Linked DNA regions of Homo sapiens: regions 1, 2, 4 and 5 are each linked to region 3. Evidence: promoter capture Hi-C in human tissues and cell types (Jung and others, 2019). All regions are on one chromosome and are shown on one strand. The core of a region is centred on a gene start or on the middle of the fragment in contact, and the rest is flanking DNA. Distances in the headings are between cores, read along the strand shown. Region 1 overlaps ZNF423 (zinc finger protein 423). Region 2 overlaps ZNF423 (zinc finger protein 423). Region 3 holds the start of ZNF423 (zinc finger protein 423). Region 4 overlaps LOC105371244 (a long non-coding RNA gene). Region 5 overlaps LOC105371244 (a long non-coding RNA gene).

Region 1 (3,130 bases), core at 367-2,866, 340 kb after region 3:
ACACATAAAGCTGGATTGTCTTTGCCACCAAGGCAAACAGAAACCCTCCAAAGTTTAAATAAATTGCCATTTATATGAGCTAATAGATTTAAATGAGGCCTGCAGTGCTGAACTATAAAAAGCTTTCGTTGTCAGGGGACCCAGAAACTATTTTAGTAGTTGGGCCAAGCAGGTAGCACAAGTAGCAGTAACAGGGGATGCAAGAAAAATTGCTCCTGGGTGAGCCCAGGTGGGAACGCCATGGGGCCTGTGCGCGCGGGGCCAGGGCTGTGCATGGCCACGTTTGCCAGGCTGCAGCTCGAGGCCAGGACCCTGCAAACCCTGTTGCTTGCAAATGAGCATCAGGATGGGTTTGGCTTAGGCTGGGCTTGGGGAGAGGAAGGATTCATTCTCGTCACGGAGATAGGGACTTCCTAAGACCTCAGGTTCATGGTGCTGCCACCTTTCTCCCCTTTATGACTTGCTTGGTCCTGTCATGGGGGAATAGAACTTGAACTAGAGAGATGTCTTTTTAGACATAGAACTTCTGGGATCTTGGAGCTGTGGGGCACTGCCTGCCAGGGCATGTCAGAGTTCACAGCGCGTGTATGTGTGCACGCACACATGCACATGTCCTTGATGAAGATGGTTTTGGGGTGTTGGACCAGCGCCACGCCCTGGAATCTTGACTCCCTCATTGACAAAGCCAGGGGCTGCAGGAAGTGATTCCGTGAGCCGGGCCCGCGGTGGCAAAGCGGCCAGCCCAGCGTTGAGCGGGCGCATTTAAAGGATTAGCTCATGCTGTTTGCTTGTGTGTGCCTAATCATGCTGCTTCCAGCTAAATGATTACAATTGATTAAAAGCAGAGCTAGGTATTCTAACAAGCAACCCGGAGCCCTTTCGATAGGGTGAGCCGGGCTCTGCCAGGCAGGGTCCTGGTACCCGGCCAGAGGGAGAGCTCTCTGAGACAGGGGCGGGATCTCAGCTCCCTTGGGACCCTTCCTTCCTAGCCCTTGAGAACATTTGATTCAGCCCTTGCCCTGATTCCATTTACTGAGTACCTACTCCCGGCACCACCTCAGGAGCCTGAGACAGAACTGGGAACAAGGAGACAGGGTTTCTATTCTCATGGAGCTGACATGCTTTGGGAGACACTGATGATAAGTCAGTAAATACATGAACTAGGGGATTTCAGAATGTGAAAACGCTGTACTGTGATGGAGAGTGGTGTGTGTATGTGCATGTGTGTGTGTGTGTGCGTGTGCGTGTGTGTGTACGCATGTGCGTGTGCATGTGTGTGTGTGTGTGTGTGTGTGTGTTGGGTGGTCAGGAAAGGCTGGCATTTCAGCTCAATCCTGGAGGTTGCAGAGCCAGTGTGGGGAAGAGCTGGGGGATCCTCCAGGAGAGGGAAGAGCCAGTACCAAGTATCTGAGGCCCAAGCAGATTTGGGGTGTTCTCAGAACAGAATAAAAAGGCAGAGGGACTAGAGGGGCAAGCAGGACAGACGGCCACTGCCTTCCTGCATTATTCTCCTGGGCTGGCCTCGCATCGCCTACCCAGTGAGATCAAGATGGGGCTTCCTAGATGCACGTACACCTGCCTATCTGCCTGCAGGAAGTACCCTTTCTTTCTCTTAATGCATCAGCCCAGCTCCAGTGCCTCCTCCCCTGAGAAGCCTCTCGGATTCTCCTTCCTTTGGTTTCTCCAGCCCTTGGTTTAACCCCCCTGATTCCGTTGGCCATATGGATTGTAAGTCACTACGTCTACACCAAACTCTCCACTCTGACGTGAGTTTTTGGAGAGTGAAGACACCCTTTGCCATCCGTCCGTCCATCCATCCATCCATCCATCCATCCATCCATCCATCCATCCCCATATGTGTTAACATATTTTTTGAGCTCCTGGAAAGTCGGAAAGAGAACACAAGCAGGAAAGGAGGAAAAGGAAGAAGGGGAAACCCACAGATTCCGGGAGCCCATTTTTAAAATCCCTGGTCCTTATAAGATGGGTAACCAAAGAGCCAGTTTCCTTGTCTCTTTGTACTGCTGCTGTTGGATCCAGCCAGATAATTATAACTAATAATAATTAAAAATCAAAAGTGCTCTAGGCACATACTTAGCATTTGACTCTGGCTGCGCTTTCTGTGAGTAGCGGCATCTTCCTCCTTCCTGCTTTAGAGATGGCCCCATCCTTGTCAACCTGACTTCTGCTGGGAGACCAGGGCCCAGATGGGTGTGGCCTGAAGTTGCTGGCTGACACCCAGTGGTGGTTCCAGGGAGTGAGAACCTGTTGCTCACGCTGGAGTCAGCCACTTGTGAGGCCAGGAGCCTGGGGAGGGCTGAGAGTTGGGCTGGCTGCTGACCCCCCGAAGTCTCCCAATCCCCATTATTTTCTTTTTTATTTTTTTGAGACAGAGTCTCACTCGGTCACCCAGTCTGGAGTGTGCAGTAACACGATCTCGGCTCACTGCAATCTCCGCCTCCCGGGTTCAAGTGATTCTCCTGCTTCAGCCTCCCGAGTAGCTGGGATTACAGGTGCCCACCACCATGCCTGGCTAATTTTGTATTTTTAGGAGAGACAGGGGTTTCACCATGTTGGCGAGGCTGGTCTCAAACTTCTGACCTCAAGTGACCCACTTGCCTCGGCCTCTCAAAGTGCTGGGATTACATGTATGGGCCACCGTGCCCAGCCGCCCATTATTTCCTACTGCAGATGTTGTATTTCTCTGGGCTCAGTTTCCACATCTGTTAAATGGGGTAAGACCTGCTGCCTCGGGTTGTTGTGAAGATGGAGTTCGCATGTGTAAAGCACTTTATAGCACTTAGGATAGAAGGATTGCTGAGGGTCATTGTGGCCCTTTTCCAATAGGATCACTTTATGCTTCCTGCCTTCCCCACTAGGGTAGGAAACCAGAGCCCAGCACAGCCTGAATTCTACTGAATGTGACCACATGTTGTGGCGATGCCATGCCCATGCTGTGGAGCTCACAGTCTGGCCTCAGATGCCAGCCCTGCCACCAAGCAGCTCCATGACCATAAGCAAGTCACCGGCATTCTCTTGCTTTCAAGAGACCAGGGTTATTGAAGAGCCCTTCTTTGTTTGGTACTGGGGTAGCTGAAGGCAGTGATGCCTGAAAAGCTCCCAGCATTGG
Region 2 (3,308 bases), core at 608-3,107, 310 kb after region 3:
CCAGCATTTACCTGCTGTGCTCTTTGGAGAGCTGGGTGGCTGTGGTGGAGTGCTGGAAGGAGCGTGCCACCCTCCGCCTTCAGAAGAGGGCGTGGGGGTTGGAGGTTCCCCGCCAGGGCCCACTCACCACTGTGGAGCTGACCCAGGGAGTTGGAGAGCATGCTGCCAGCTGCTCACCCCCACCATTCCTGGGCCTTGATGAATGCAAACATCCTCTGAGAACCTTTGTTACCATCCTGAGTTTTCAGGTTTCATCTTTTTTCTTATGTCCCTGACTCCTCCCTTGAGATTCTTAGAGTGCTCTGCTGAGCCTTATGGCTCTTCTTGTTAACGTGGTATCCTTAGTGTCGTCTTTTGGTATGTGGGAGGATCACGCATCGTGGCCCCTTTGTGTTGGGTGAAGCCTTGTGGCTAATTCTGGCCAGAGAGCCGTGAGTGGAGCCTTTAACCAACAGAGTGGGACCTTTCAGCATTCTCTCTTTCCCTGGGGCACTCTCAGCATCTGAGTGTTTTTCACAAGCAGAAACCCCTGCAATGGATGTGAAGGGCAAATGAGAAATAAACCATTGCACCCCTTGAGATTTTGGGAGTTGTTACTACAACATAGCTTTCCCTATCTTAATACACAGGTCTTTGTTGATTTCTCTAAAGTTTACAACTTTCTGCAGGGTATTGGAAGTGTGGGAAAGCTGGCTGATTGTTTTTTTTTTTTTTTCTGGAAAGAGTATCAAGTAGATAAAACTTTTGTCCATTCTGGACAGTGAGAAAACTGAGGCTCAGAGGAGTTAGGTGACTATCCTAAGATCACACAGCTTCCAGGCACCAGGCATTGACGTCCCCCAGTTAACAAATGTTATGCTCTTTCTTCTCTCTTGCTTTGCCTTTGAAGAATGAATTCTCTTTCACAGGGGTCACAAACTCAATGACCTTTGAGGTCAAGCAGATCAGGGTGGGGCTGAGGAGCACAGGACAATAGGGACTGATAAGAAGTGCAGGGAATATTCGAAAAGCATTAAGGTTCAGCCTTGGCGTTTAATTCTGTGCCCCCTGATGACATCTCGAGCTTCCACGGATAGCTTCAGCTGCTGTGCGCGCTCACTATGAGTGCCTCCTTCTGATGTCTTGCCCTCGAGTTTAAATCTTGAACTTTGTAATGGAAGTCTCACATGCTCATCCCTTTATAGCCGCCAACTATCTGATAAAGTCCTCTACAGTTAGGATGGGGACTGGCCATTAACATCCTAGTACTCTATCCCCGAGTGACCTTGTGAGTTATCAAATCCTACCTCCTCCTTTCACAAATGAGGTCTCTGAGCTCAGAAAAGGCACCAACTTACCCAAGGACACCCCACCGAGTAGTTTCTTAATGAAAGCGTTTGTACTGTTTGGAAGTGAAGAAAGTCACAGTTTAAGTGGATGGAGGGGTGTTGAAATGGAATTGAGAACAGCCAGTAGGGAAGGAAAATGTGTTCTCCTTAAAAAATGTTAACTTTTGTTTGTTTGTGTAGTCAGAAGACATTTATTGTGCAAGATGCTGGGCAATGTGCTTGATCATTAAAAAAAACCTTAGTGAAAAGATGTCTTGCATTTGTGGGTATAAAAATCTGAAACTTCTTGCAGACAGAGGTCAGTTCTCATTCTGCTTATGTTCCCAACACCTGGCTCTATGCTTTGCACATAACAGAAATTAAGTGTTGAATTTAATTGCCTCTATCCTTATGCTACCAATGGCGATTATGAATAATGGTAAGGAAGTTAGCACAGCCCTGGGGTTAAGAGCACAGCTCTGTGGTTGAAAGGCCTGGGCGCTGTCACTTACTGTAAAGTGAGGACAAGATCATGACCTCCTCGTAGAGATTTTATGAGCCCATCCCAGATGTAAAGTGTTTAGCTGAATGCCTGGCAGGTAGTTAGCACTTGAATGCCTCCAAGATAGTCCAGGAGAGCTAATCTTTATTAACTCAGCGAGCCCAGTCTTGGCTAGTGTCTGTTCAGCTTTGCTTGGGAGACAGAACTGTGGCTCAGCACAGGCAAATACATTCTGCCCACTCCCCATGTGACGTGGACAATAATTTTGTACCCCAAACTGCAAAATCTCCATTTAAAGCAGCTTGGGAGAATTGTTTCAGCATGAGCTACCACTGCAGTCTGGGGTTGCTTTTCTGTCGGAGGCTCGGTGCTGAACAGTTAGAGTGGGGGGTCACCCTGGCTGGCAGGGCTGGGCATGACACCTGTGTAGCTCACAGGCTCTGAGCAGGGTTGATGGGGTGGCATGGTCATGTGGCAGCCAAGGCCCAGTCTTGCACATGTTGAGATGTGATGGGGCTGCCCTTGTCAAGCCTGCCCGGCGCCTCCTCTTCATGACAGTCCCCATTATCCTGTCCAACAGCAATGGGCAGGGGAAGGAGCACTGGACAAGGAGTCAGGGCCCTGAGATTCACTTCCTCTGTCACTTACTATCTTTTCAACTTGATACTTAGAAGCTTAGTGTTCCAACTTGCAGAATGGGACGAAAAATGCCACCTCCATCCAGCTTACTCACATGGCTGAGAAACAGACCTGGGGATAAAGTGTTCCGTAGAGGCCAAGGGGAAGGGCCATTGTTGGCAGAGGTTAAGAGTTGCATTTCGGTCCTGGATCAGCCACGTGGGACAATCACTTTACCTCACCCAGTGTCACTTTCTCCATGTGTGGAGTGGGAATAATAACGGCACCGGCCCCATAGTGCCACTGTGATGAGCAAGTGACTGTGTAAAGCTGGCTTCGCTTCAGCTCTGATCCTCTGGTCACACTGTGAGGTCAGAGGTCCTGTTGTCCTGTTCTGCTGCACATCACCAGCACCCAATGCTGCACCCTGCGCTTGGGCGCTCAGTTTCTGCAGAATAGAAGAAGGATGCGATCCCCTGGAGTTACGTCTTGATGTCTGATGCCTGTAGACTGTGAGCCCAGCAAGGGCAAAAGCCCTGGCTCCCAGGTCACTGCTGCATGCCAGCACCTGGCTCAGTGAGGAAAACCCTCCCAAGCCTTCAGCCCCTGCAAGCACCCTCCCCTGGAACGCCCTCTCTGCCTCCACATCTCAGCCTGTTCATCCAAGGCCACCTCATTCAGGAAGTTATTCATTCACTCATCCATTCAGTAGGTACCTATGCACCAGACATGTGCTAAGGTGATCCTCACCTGTCACGGAGGAAGTTTCTTCCCCCTTGGTGTTACCTCGACCCCCATCCCAAATATTTTATTCACCCTTCTTAAGGAGCTGACCCCTTCCTGCCTGGTGTAATGCTTATGTGCATACCCAGCTGATCTCC
Region 3 (3,481 bases), core at 610-3,109:
GGGGAGGGAGAGGCTCCGAGGAACGGTTTAGGGGAGCCGTCTGGGGAAGACTTTTCCCAAGTCAGAACCCTTCCCGGGCCTGCCCGGAGACCAGAGTCTCAGCCGGTTCAGGAGCTGCGGGGGACGCGCGGCGCCCCCTGGCGGCTGGGTAAAACCTCGCAGAAAGTAGCAGCTGGTTTATTTCTTCTGACAACTGCGCGGGGAGGGGGTGCTCCTGCAAGGTCTCAGGGGTAAGGTGTTCCTTTTACAGTCGGACAGAGGAAGTGCACACCAGGCGCGAGAATTCTACAAATAAGGGTGTAGGGGGCGCACGGGGTTAGCCCAGTGGTGGAAGAATTTGTTGGATGTGGGGCAGGGGTGGTCTTTGAACACCGACCGGTGGGCAAAAGCCAACCTGGCAGAGCCAGGTCCCTGGATAGTTCATGTGCGTGAGGCATACATCGCGAGGTGGCAATACTAGGGCAGCCCAACTCCGTTTGCTCCCCCATTCTTTCACTTTTTACAGTTTGTGAGGCTCATGCGTCTTGGCGAGCTTGACAGCCGCGTGGGCCCTAAGTGTGTTCCCTCCTCCTGCCCCCGGTGCAGCCAGCGCCCGAGCCCCGGCCCCGCGTGCTGGTGCGGTGCCCGCGCCCGCGCCGTGCCTGCCGCCGCCGCCGCCGCCGCCACCACGGTCCGGGTTTTGCGGGCGGCCGGAGCTGTATTTCCAGCGCTGTCCATCGCTCGGTGCTGTTGGCCCTCTCTCCGTCTGATCCGAGCCGGAGCAGTGCGGGGCGCCCCACGGGATCAGAGCGCTCCCCCGCCGGGACTCCGCTCCTCACATCCTCCTGCTGGGACCCGGCTACATTTCCAGCCAAGCCTGGCTTTATTATGTGTCTCTGCAGTGCAGCCCCAGCAGCCGGATCGGGAGGAGGAGAGCCAGCGACCACAAAGAAGACAGGAGCGCGAGGGAGGCTGGCGGGCGGGCCGGCGCCGGCTGGAGCGCGGAGGAGCCGGGGCGCAGCCGCCGCCGCCGCTGCCCAGGAGGACGGGAGCCCGGCCGCCGCCGCCGCCGCCTGCTCGTCCTCCTCTTCCGCCACCGCGGCCGCCGCCTCCCCCCTCTCCGAGCCCCTGGCCCATGGAGGCAGCTAGCGGGGCCGGCGACTTGGCACCGGCCTGGGGATCGGCTGCGCGCCTCGCGCTGAGCACCGCAGCCCGAGGGCAGGCAGCGGCGGCCCGGCGCACGGGCTGAGCGATGCCCGGGGCACGGGCGCGCCTGCCGGCCGCCGCCTGAGCGCCCCCGCGCGCCCCTTCCTCCTCCGGGGGGCCGGCGCCGGGCCGATCCGAGAGCCAGAGAAGGGGGCGTGAGCCAGGGGCCCCGAGCCGCGGCTTCCGAGCCACTGCGGCCGTTTCGAGCCTCCCCTCCAAGTAGGCTGAGTTGAGGGACCCCCGCCCCCCATCCATCATAATCTCCAAACCAGGCGCTTGGGCATTTTTGAGCCATTAATATTTATTATTTTTTTTTGTGCGGCAGGGGATAATTCGAAGGCTTCTTTTTTTTTTTTTTCCTGGGGGGTACTGAGCTTCCGCGCTCCCGACCGCCTCCCGGTCTCCTCCCCCCTTGAGATACCCTCGACTCCAGCCCCGTTCCCCCTCCTCAGATGGGTTCATTGTGAGCTCCGCACCGGGCTGCGTGGCCGGACGCCTGCAAACTTTGCACAAAAATCCGGCAAGGGGCGGAGGAGGAGGAGAAGGAGGAGGAGGGTGAGGGTGGCGGTAGGGTGGGGGAGGGAAGGAGGGGGCCGCAGGGGCCGGGGGCCGGCGGGGGGTTGGGAGGAGGAGGGGGGCGGCTTTTTTTTTTTTTTTTTTTTTTTTTTTTTTGCATAACTCGGCTCGGCCGAGTGGCCTCCGGACTCCCCGCGCCGCTGGGACCGCCGCTTGGATCGGGAGCCCCGGACTGCCGCATTGCAACAGGCAGGGCCCCGGCGCGCCCCCCGGGCCTCCCCCCGCCTTCGAGCGGCCTCGGCCGGCCCGGGCTGCCCCCCCAAGGGAGGCCGCCCCGGACCTGCGGTCCGCTCCCCACAGCCGCCAACCGGGCTGCAAAAAAAAAAGTTTCCAAGAGACAGGCGGAGGAGAAGGGGGAGAAGGGCTGCCCGGAGCGGCGGGGGGCGGCGGGGGGAGCCGGCTGCGGAGGGCGACGGAGCGCCCGGAGCCCCGGACATGTCCAGGCGGAAGCAGGCGAAGCCGCGCTCGGTGAAAGGTGAGCGAGCGAGGCCCGGCGGAGGCGCGAGCGAGCGAGCGAGGAGGGAGGGAGCGAGGGAGGAGGGACCGGCGAGCGGGCTGGCTGCCGGGGACCCGCGCGAGCGAGCCGAGAGGAGGAGGAGGAGGCGGCAGAGGAGGCGGAGGCGGAGGCGGAGGCGGAGGAGGGGGAGGAGGAAGCCGGGAGCAGGAGGCGGAGGCGGCGGCGGCGGCGGCGGCGGCGGAGGGGGTACGCCGCGGACACCCTCCCTGCCCGGACTCGGCGCCGTCGCCCTTGGGGGACCCAGGCCTGGGGGCGCCGCTAAGGGGCCCTTGCCGCTCCCTCCGTGCGGGGCCCGGGCCCGTGTGGCCAATCAAGGGGTGCTGGCCCGACTTGGCGGGGATTGCGAATCTCGGCGGCGGCGGGCGGGCGACAGGAGGAAGGAAGAGGCGGCGAGGACGGGCGCCCGGCAGGCCGACCGCTCCTCGCTGGCCCCGGGCCTCGCTGGCTCTCTCTGGCCCCTGCCTGGTCGCCCGAGGACGCGGGGAGCGGCGGGCGCTGTCGGCGAGCGCCCCGGGCGCCGCGCCCTCGCCCCGGCCGCCTGGCGCCCCCTCCCGCCCCTGCCCAGGCCTTCTCCCGGCCCGGGCCCCTGCACTTCCTGCCTCCTCCACCGAGGCCCACCGGGCAGGGAGCCTCCGCCAGGAGTTCATTGTCTGCACGGCGCCGGCGGGACGCAGGTCCTCAGGGGAGCTCAGCGGCCGCGGTGCGCGCCCCTCCGCGGAGGGCGCCCCGGATCTGACCCCGGGCACCGGCACCCTGGATCTGACCCCGGGCACCGGCACCCTCGACACCCAGGCCGGCTTTCTGTGCTGGCTCCCCGGGGTGCGCGCGTTTGTGGGGAGCTGCAGATATATAGATACACACACCCATCCCTTCGTCTCCACGCTTTGCTTTCTATTTCCAGCGAGGGCCCCCAGCTCGAGGGGACCCCTGGAGAGTAGAGGCCCCGGGGAAAGGCCGCGCGCCGGCAGCAGAGCCCCTCCCCTGGCCTCCTCTCCCCGCGGCTGGCCTTTCCAGGCCTTGCCTGCTGCTTTGTCCCGATTCTAGCCCCTCGGTTGGGTGCCCGGGCGCTCGGCTGTGAGATGGGAGATGATCGAGGAAGGGGGGAACGATGAGAGCGGCTAAGTCTACGGAGCCAAAAGCCCCCAGGCCCTTGTCTTCTCCCATCTCCCCTGATGACCTCTGGCCTGAGCCCAGTTCTGCTCT
Region 4 (3,174 bases), core at 389-2,888, 460 kb after region 3:
GAAGCTTTTCCATCATCTGCTGTTCCCAGTCCATGGTGAAGGGCCTCCTCCCCCTGTTCTCTGAGGACATTTGATTCCCTTCACCTCACTCATCATGTGGTGCTCTCAAATAGCTTGTTATTCCTCTGTCTTCAGGACTGTAAACCGCATGTGGGCAGGACCAGGTTTTCTTAATGACTGCATCCCTGGACTCCCATAGGGGCAGGGATGACACACCCATAGGTGGGTGCTTAGTAACTATGTAATGGCTGAGTGTTAGGATTGAGGAATATGACTGGAGGCCAATGGACTAGAGGAGATCAAGGTCTGCCCTCTTTCTCTGACTGCACATGAATCGAAACCTGTGAAAAGTCAGGGACAATGTGGGCCCTGGGTGGATTTGGAGAAGCTGAGAGTGGATGCAGCATTTGGGATTACACACATCCTCCTGCTACTACCAAGCACAACACAGTGAGGAGAGCTCCTGATTAAGGCCAAAATGCTGGCATCTCCCTCAGCTTCTCTGTGACATCAGAAGGGCTGGGCTTCCCTTTTTTCTGAATACCTTTCTCACATTGGGGCTCCTAGTGAGTTGTGGAGGAATGGAACTGATGTATGACTCCAGCTCTTCAGAAAATGATCCAGGGGTCTTAGTGGACCACAGGGGAAGTATAGCACATCAGCCATGTAATACAGCTGGTGGAGGGGAAAAATGAATACATAAAATCTACATGTCATCTGGAAGTCAGTCCTTATTACAAGAAAGGAATCCAGCCACTGGCTTCATGCCTTATTCTGGGTCCATTTTTGGCTATTGCATTTTTTTTTCTTTTGAGGTGGAGTCTCACTCTGTCTCCCAGACTGGGTGCAGTGGCGCTATCTCAGCTCACTGCAAACTCCGCCTCCTGGGTTCATGCCATTCTCCTGCCTCAGCCTCCCGAGTAGCTGGGACTACAGGAGCCCGCCACCATGCCTGGCTAATTTTTTGTATTTTTAGTAGAGACAGGGTTTCACCGTGTTAGCCAGGATGGTCTCGATCTCCTGACCTTGTGATCCGCCCGCCTCGGCCTCCCAAAGTGCTGGGATTACAGGCGTGAGCCACTGCGCCCAGCCGGCTATTGCATTTTTAAAAGGGACACACTAAGGATACTGCAGAGATAATCAAACTGAATTATATCACAGAAAACTGTGGAAAAAACAAGTCTGAAGATGAAATGGCTAAATGGTCACTGTCACATTACATCGCTATGGTTAATATATCTGACATTTAACTTTTTAGGGCCATTTTATCTGTTGTTTAATTTGTTCCTCATCACTAGTCCTGCCTGAATGTGAATATTTACCAGGCAATGAAGGCTAGGGCCATCAATGCAGGATAGAGGTTGGCGGTGCTCTCCCTAGCTGCCGAGTCTGTGATACTGAAGTGAAGGCCTCTGAGGATGCTTTCAGATTTGATTTTGGTTGAGTTAATATTGACGAAGTGCCTGACACTTGTGATGCTCAGAAAATTTGTTTCCTTTCACCTTTTTGAAGCACTGTTTCTACCCAAGGGACTGGTATTTGCTGGAGAGAGGGAGTATCGCTTAACCCTTTGCAGCTGTTTCCTTGGATTCTGGCTTGGGTCTCACTGTAGTTCGGTCTAAACATCGCTTGCTGGATCCCGAGTGTCCTGCTTAGTAGCTGTGTGACTTTAGGCAAGCTACATGGGCTCATACTTCTCTGGCCTGCCCGCTCCTTGGAGGGGTGTTGTATTCCTTAGTGGTGACTGCAACCCTAGGGTGGGCTGGCGTGGGGTAGGGGAGGGTGGGTCCGGCAGCCCCCAGGGCCTCTCTCTGAGCCCCAGTGGCAATGACTTTCAGTGGAGAGACCTACTTACCTTCAAGAGACTACTTTAGAACCTCAGGGTAGGATATGGAAATTTAAAAGTACATGGAAGGAAAATCCCTGCTATTTTAGTATACGGAGTCAGGGAGTAAAACCTGCTCACAAGACAGACTGGAGTAGTGGCTGCCCAGCCGAGATTCTGTACCGGAGTATCTCTGGGGTGTGGCCTAGCTCTTGGAGGCCCAGAGATCATTAGATGTTTAGGTTTGCCATGAGCAGATGTGGATTTGGTATTAGCAGCTTTTCCAAGGGGATTGACGTGCCTAGTTTTGGGGATCCCTCTCAGAAAAGCAGCGGCTGGAAAATCAGCTCCTCGTCTACCCCAGTGAACTACGAAACAGCCCACATTTGTATGGAGTTCTTGGCTGTCACTGACTGTGCTCCCTGCTTCACATGCAAGCTCTCATGTGCTCTTCACAGCACTCCTGCTCAGCACATACTGTCATTAAACCCATTCTACAGGCGAGGAAACAGAGGCACAGAAAGGTAAAGTAACTTTCCTAAAGTCACACAGCTATTAAGTAGGACACGTGGGATTCAGACTTGCTTGAAACACTTGCAGGGACTGGAAGGGCCTGAGTTTGTGACCTTGGTTGGCCAGCATACCCAGATGGGAAGGCTGTGTCTCAAAAAATTCCTGCAGGATTGGCCACAGTCATGCAAGAAAGCAGGGCAGGAGACTTGGGGAAGATACTGTTTTCATCTCAACCCTGCCGTTTCTCATCTATGTAACTCTGAGCAAGTTTCTTGCCCTCTGTGGCTTCTTTTATTCAAATGAATAAGGTCCTGGACTTGCTGATGTTGAGGCACCTACCAGCTCTGAAAGGTTTCAGGTCCCCTTTTGGGGTCTGTGGTTGTAAGCACACAAAGGTCTCCTTCCTTGCCTCCATATGTTGATAGCATTTCCCTCTCTCACTGCCCCAATCAGTCCCCCACTCTGCACACAAGGAAGCCAAGTCCCCACAAAGCCAAGTCGTGCCATGGGCGTGGGGCATGTGTGTGTGTTCTCAACCAGCCCCTTTACACTTCGTGCTTTCTAATGTCCCTCTGAGGACCCTGGACCCCTCCCACTTTTTTTTTTTTTTTTTTTACTCCTAAGCCTTCCTTCCTAAGAAGCCCTTTCTAAGGACTCTTCTTTTGGTCAGGAGAAAAACCAGTTTCTCCTATGCTGGTTCTGACTCGGATGTCAAGGACCAGTCTTACGGAAGCACAATGATCACACAGCCGAGGCTTGTTTTCTGATTGCTTACTTTCTAAAGGGATGCACTAAGTTGGAAGGACCACTTGTAGTGTGCCAGAGGATGGCATCTG
Region 5 (3,185 bases), core at 18-2,517, 440 kb after region 3:
TCTGTGAAGGTGCCAGTTGGTGGTCTTAGTTCACAGGGTGGCCACAGTGGCTCCATGCATCCCCCGACACCAAATGCCATCTTGGCACTGTGCCACACTGAGGAAGCCAAGAGCTCAGCCCCTGGCACCAGAGAGCTTCACTTTTTGAAGCTATCGTCAGCTTCCATCACTGCTCTAAGCCTGTCCCTTATCTGTAAAATGGGGCTAGGAAAAGGATGCCCATAAGGGGTAGCGGCATGTCTGGGCTCTCTGTGCATCATTTCTATCCTTATCAATAAACAGTAGGCTTCTCCCCAGGAGTCCTAGAAGAACAGCATGGCAAATACTGCCACCACAGTGATCTTGGGTGTGAAAAACCTCAGCCAGGAGGGTTTTGGGGTTGTGTGAGCCACTGGCTTGGGCTCCTTCCCTTCTCAGGTCTGTCTCTGGCATGTGGAAGGCGGGTGACCATGGAGCCCCTTCCCTAGCAGTGAGAGTCGCTGTTCAAATCCATTCTCCCAGATCCTTTGACCCCCAGACTCAGGGGAATCCCCGGACTTTAGGACTGGAAGGCCCTTCGGGGTCTCCAAGTTCCCCGCTCCTCACTGCCAGCCATGGCAGCCATCCTAGGATGGCTCACCCTTGCCTTGAAACTCACACGGTTGAGACCACAGAAAGCCCAGCCCCTGGGATTCCTGAAGACTTGAGGTGGTGGCTATGGTCTTCTGGTTGCTCTGAGAGACTTGCCTGTCTCCCCTTCACTGCCGCCTCCTCCAGGAAGGCATCTGAGAGGATCAGTGAAGCCTCAACTACCCCACGGGTTCTGCGCTCTGCCTTCCTCCCCATGCCCAAGAGGGAGTGGGTTTTGAGGCACCCTGCTCTTTGGCCCTGTGCGCAGCTCTCCTGGCAGAGTGGAGAGCTGGTGGTAATTGACAGGGAAGTGATTGGGTATTCTTGTGTCTCTGGCCTTAGTAACATCAGCATAGCCCTCAGTGTCTACTTTTCTCCCTTCCCCTGCCACCCCTGGGTTCTCTACAGATGGTGGCTCTGGTGAGCCCATGGTTCTCTCCTGCTAAGTCTCTCTGTTCCCTGCCTTGTTTCTCTCCATATGGTGGCCCTGATGAGCTGTAAGAAATGCCAAGCTGAACCTCTCACTCTTCTGTTTTATTTATTTTATTTCATTTTATTTTATTTTTTTTAGAGATAATGTATTGCTCTGTTGCCCAGGCTGGAGTGCAGTTGTTCAATAATAGCTCACTGCAGCTTCAACCTCCTGGGCTCAAACCATCTTCCTACCTTAGCCTTCCAAGTGGCTGAAACTACAGGTGTGTGCCATTACATCCAGCTGTTTTTTTCAAATTGTGCTTTCTATAGAAATGGGGTCTCACTGTGTTGCCCAGTCTGGTCTCAAACTCCTGGGCACAAGTGATCCTACTGCCTCAGCCTCCCAGAGAGCTGAGATTATAGGCATGTGACACTGTGCCTGGTCATTCCTCTGTTTTAAACCACAAAACTCCTGACTAGTCTGGTTTCTGCCTGGGAGTCCACCTCATACCCCGAACCCATTCTTCATAACTCTCACTTGGGCCTTTGCACCTGCTGCTCCCTCTGCCGGAAGCCTCTCTTCTCCTGCTTCAACTCTGCCAGGTTGAAATGCCTCTTCCTGACCTGGCTCTCCCAGCGGGGGTCTGAAGCTGTGGCCTCCGCAGCCACCCACAGGCCACCTTGCACTATCCCCTCCCAGTACCTTTTCTCTTCTTCTTCTTTTTTTTTTCTTTCTTTCTTTTTTTTTTTTTTTTCAGGCGGAGTTTCACTTTTGTCGCCCAGGCTGGAGTGCAATGGCAGGATCTCGCCTCACTGCAACCTCCATCTCCTGGGTTCAAGTGATTCTCCTGCCTCAGCCTCCCAAGTAGCTGGGACTGCAGGCGTGTGCCAACATGCCCAACTAATTTTTGTATTTTTAGTAAAGACGGGGTTTCACCATGTTGTCCAGGCTGGTCTCGAACTCCTGACTTCAGGTGATCTGTCCACCTCGGCCTCCCAAAGTGCTGAGATTACAGGCGTGAGACACTGCACCCAGCCATACTTTTTCTTATCTGTGTGGCCATATCTCCCCCGCCTCCCTCTCTGTTGTGCGACTGCCCACCCCATAAGGGCAGGGAGGGTCTGCACTGCTCCCCACTATACCCCTGGCTTCCAGGGTAAGACCTGGTCTAGGGAGGCCCTTCCCCACCTGACACCGGTCCTGTCCTGCCAGGTAACCCAGGAGACCCCCGAGCCGAGGCCTGGTATCTGGGTGAACCATCCTGGCTCCATTGCAGCACACTATGGCAGCTGAATAATTAACTCTCCAATTATAGGCCCATAATAGAGGCTTAATCTGGGGCTCGTTGGTAATGAGCCTATTCACAGGCCTTTCATCCAGGCCCCAGCCCTGCGCCGCTCAGAGAGCCCCCGCCTTGGCTATGTGTCAGAGTCCACCCTCCTGCTCACCGGGGCCTCGGCCCTGCACCCCTAGCCTGGCTGCAGCCCACCCCCTGGCCTTGAGGTGTCCTGGGCTGTGTCTGCGGTCCCAGGTAAACCCGGGGAGAAAAGAGCATGCTCTGACCTCTCCTCCCAGGGCTGGGTGGGCAGCAGAGCTCAGAGCCTGCAGCAGATGCCTCTCCGCCAGGCCAGGATGAGCCTGGAAGCTACCAGGAAAATGTGCCCCCGGCGCAGAAGGCCCCCCTCATTATGGAGACACACCAATTGGCTCGGCCCATGAAAGCCTTCAGGTTTGAGAACGTGAAGACTTAATTGCCTTATGGACATGGAAAGAATGGAGGGGCTTCTCCAGGGAGCGGTTCCTTGCCTCGTGCTTTCTCTCTCCCCCACTGGATAATGACAGGACTTATGACTGATTAAAGGGGGAAGACAAACTCCCCTCTGGGGGGCCAGTGACAGGTTCCACCTACATTTAAAGCATGCCCCCTCCTCAACTCCACTCCTCCTCCCACCGACTTTTCAGAGGTGATTTTTAATTGCTTTTTCCCAGGTGGAGAGAGGGAGTGGAGATGAGGGGTGCGCGGGGAATTTCACATTCGACAGCGGCCCCTGCATCTTGGTTCTTACTGGGGCACGCTGTTCCTGTGGGGCTTGGAATCGCAGTAAATTTGTCGTCCAGGGAAGCATGGAGAGCAAATAGGCACACAAAAACTCCCCTCTCT

Evidence for each region. Contacts are between HindIII fragments. The study calls those that stand out against the background at their distance.
Region 1: a contact is called between a fragment that was not itself captured here and the fragment with the promoter of ZNF423 in region 3, in 1 of the 25 tissues and cell types used here (lymphoblastoid cells).
Region 2: a fragment that was not itself captured here is called in contact with the fragment with the promoter of ZNF423 in region 3 in 1 of the 25 tissues and cell types used here (hippocampus).
Region 4: a fragment that was not itself captured here is called in contact with the fragment with the promoter of ZNF423 in region 3 in 1 of the 25 tissues and cell types used here (lymphoblastoid cells).
Region 5: a contact is called between a fragment that was not itself captured here and the fragment with the promoter of ZNF423 in region 3, in 1 of the 25 tissues and cell types used here (lymphoblastoid cells).

What each region holds. Positions count from the first base shown.
Region 1 is chr16:49,512,354-49,515,483 of GRCh38, reverse strand. The region is part of intron 7 of ZNF423 (zinc finger protein 423); the gene reads left to right. Among named protein-coding and RNA genes, the nearest start is that of LINC02179, 48 kb to the right of the region's middle. The HindIII fragment of the contact is 5,204 bases long and covers 1-3,130 here.
Region 2 is chr16:49,544,419-49,547,726 of GRCh38, reverse strand. All of the region lies in intron 5 of ZNF423 (zinc finger protein 423), which reads left to right. Among named protein-coding and RNA genes, the nearest start is that of LINC02179, 80 kb to the right of the region's middle. The HindIII fragment of the contact is 6,595 bases long and covers 1-3,308 here.
Region 3 is chr16:49,854,490-49,857,970 of GRCh38, reverse strand. ZNF423 (zinc finger protein 423) reads left to right here and starts at 1,859. Exons shown (of 8, transcript NM_001379286.1): 1 at 1,859-2,236. The coding sequence starts at 2,197. RefSeq lists a silencer at 2,356-2,615. The HindIII fragment of the contact is 13,140 bases long and covers 1-3,481 here.
Region 4 is chr16:49,399,334-49,402,507 of GRCh38, reverse strand. All of the region lies in intron 7 of LOC105371244 (a long non-coding RNA gene), which reads left to right. C16orf78 (chromosome 16 open reading frame 78) reads right to left here. Exons shown (of 5, transcript NM_144602.4): 5 at 3,077-3,174. Among named protein-coding and RNA genes, the nearest start is that of C16orf78, 27 kb to the right of the region's middle. The HindIII fragment of the contact is 3,495 bases long and covers 1-3,174 here.
Region 5 is chr16:49,415,779-49,418,963 of GRCh38, reverse strand. All of the region lies in intron 2 of LOC105371244 (a long non-coding RNA gene), which reads left to right. Among named protein-coding and RNA genes, the nearest start is that of C16orf78, 44 kb to the right of the region's middle. The HindIII fragment of the contact is 4,694 bases long and covers 1-3,185 here.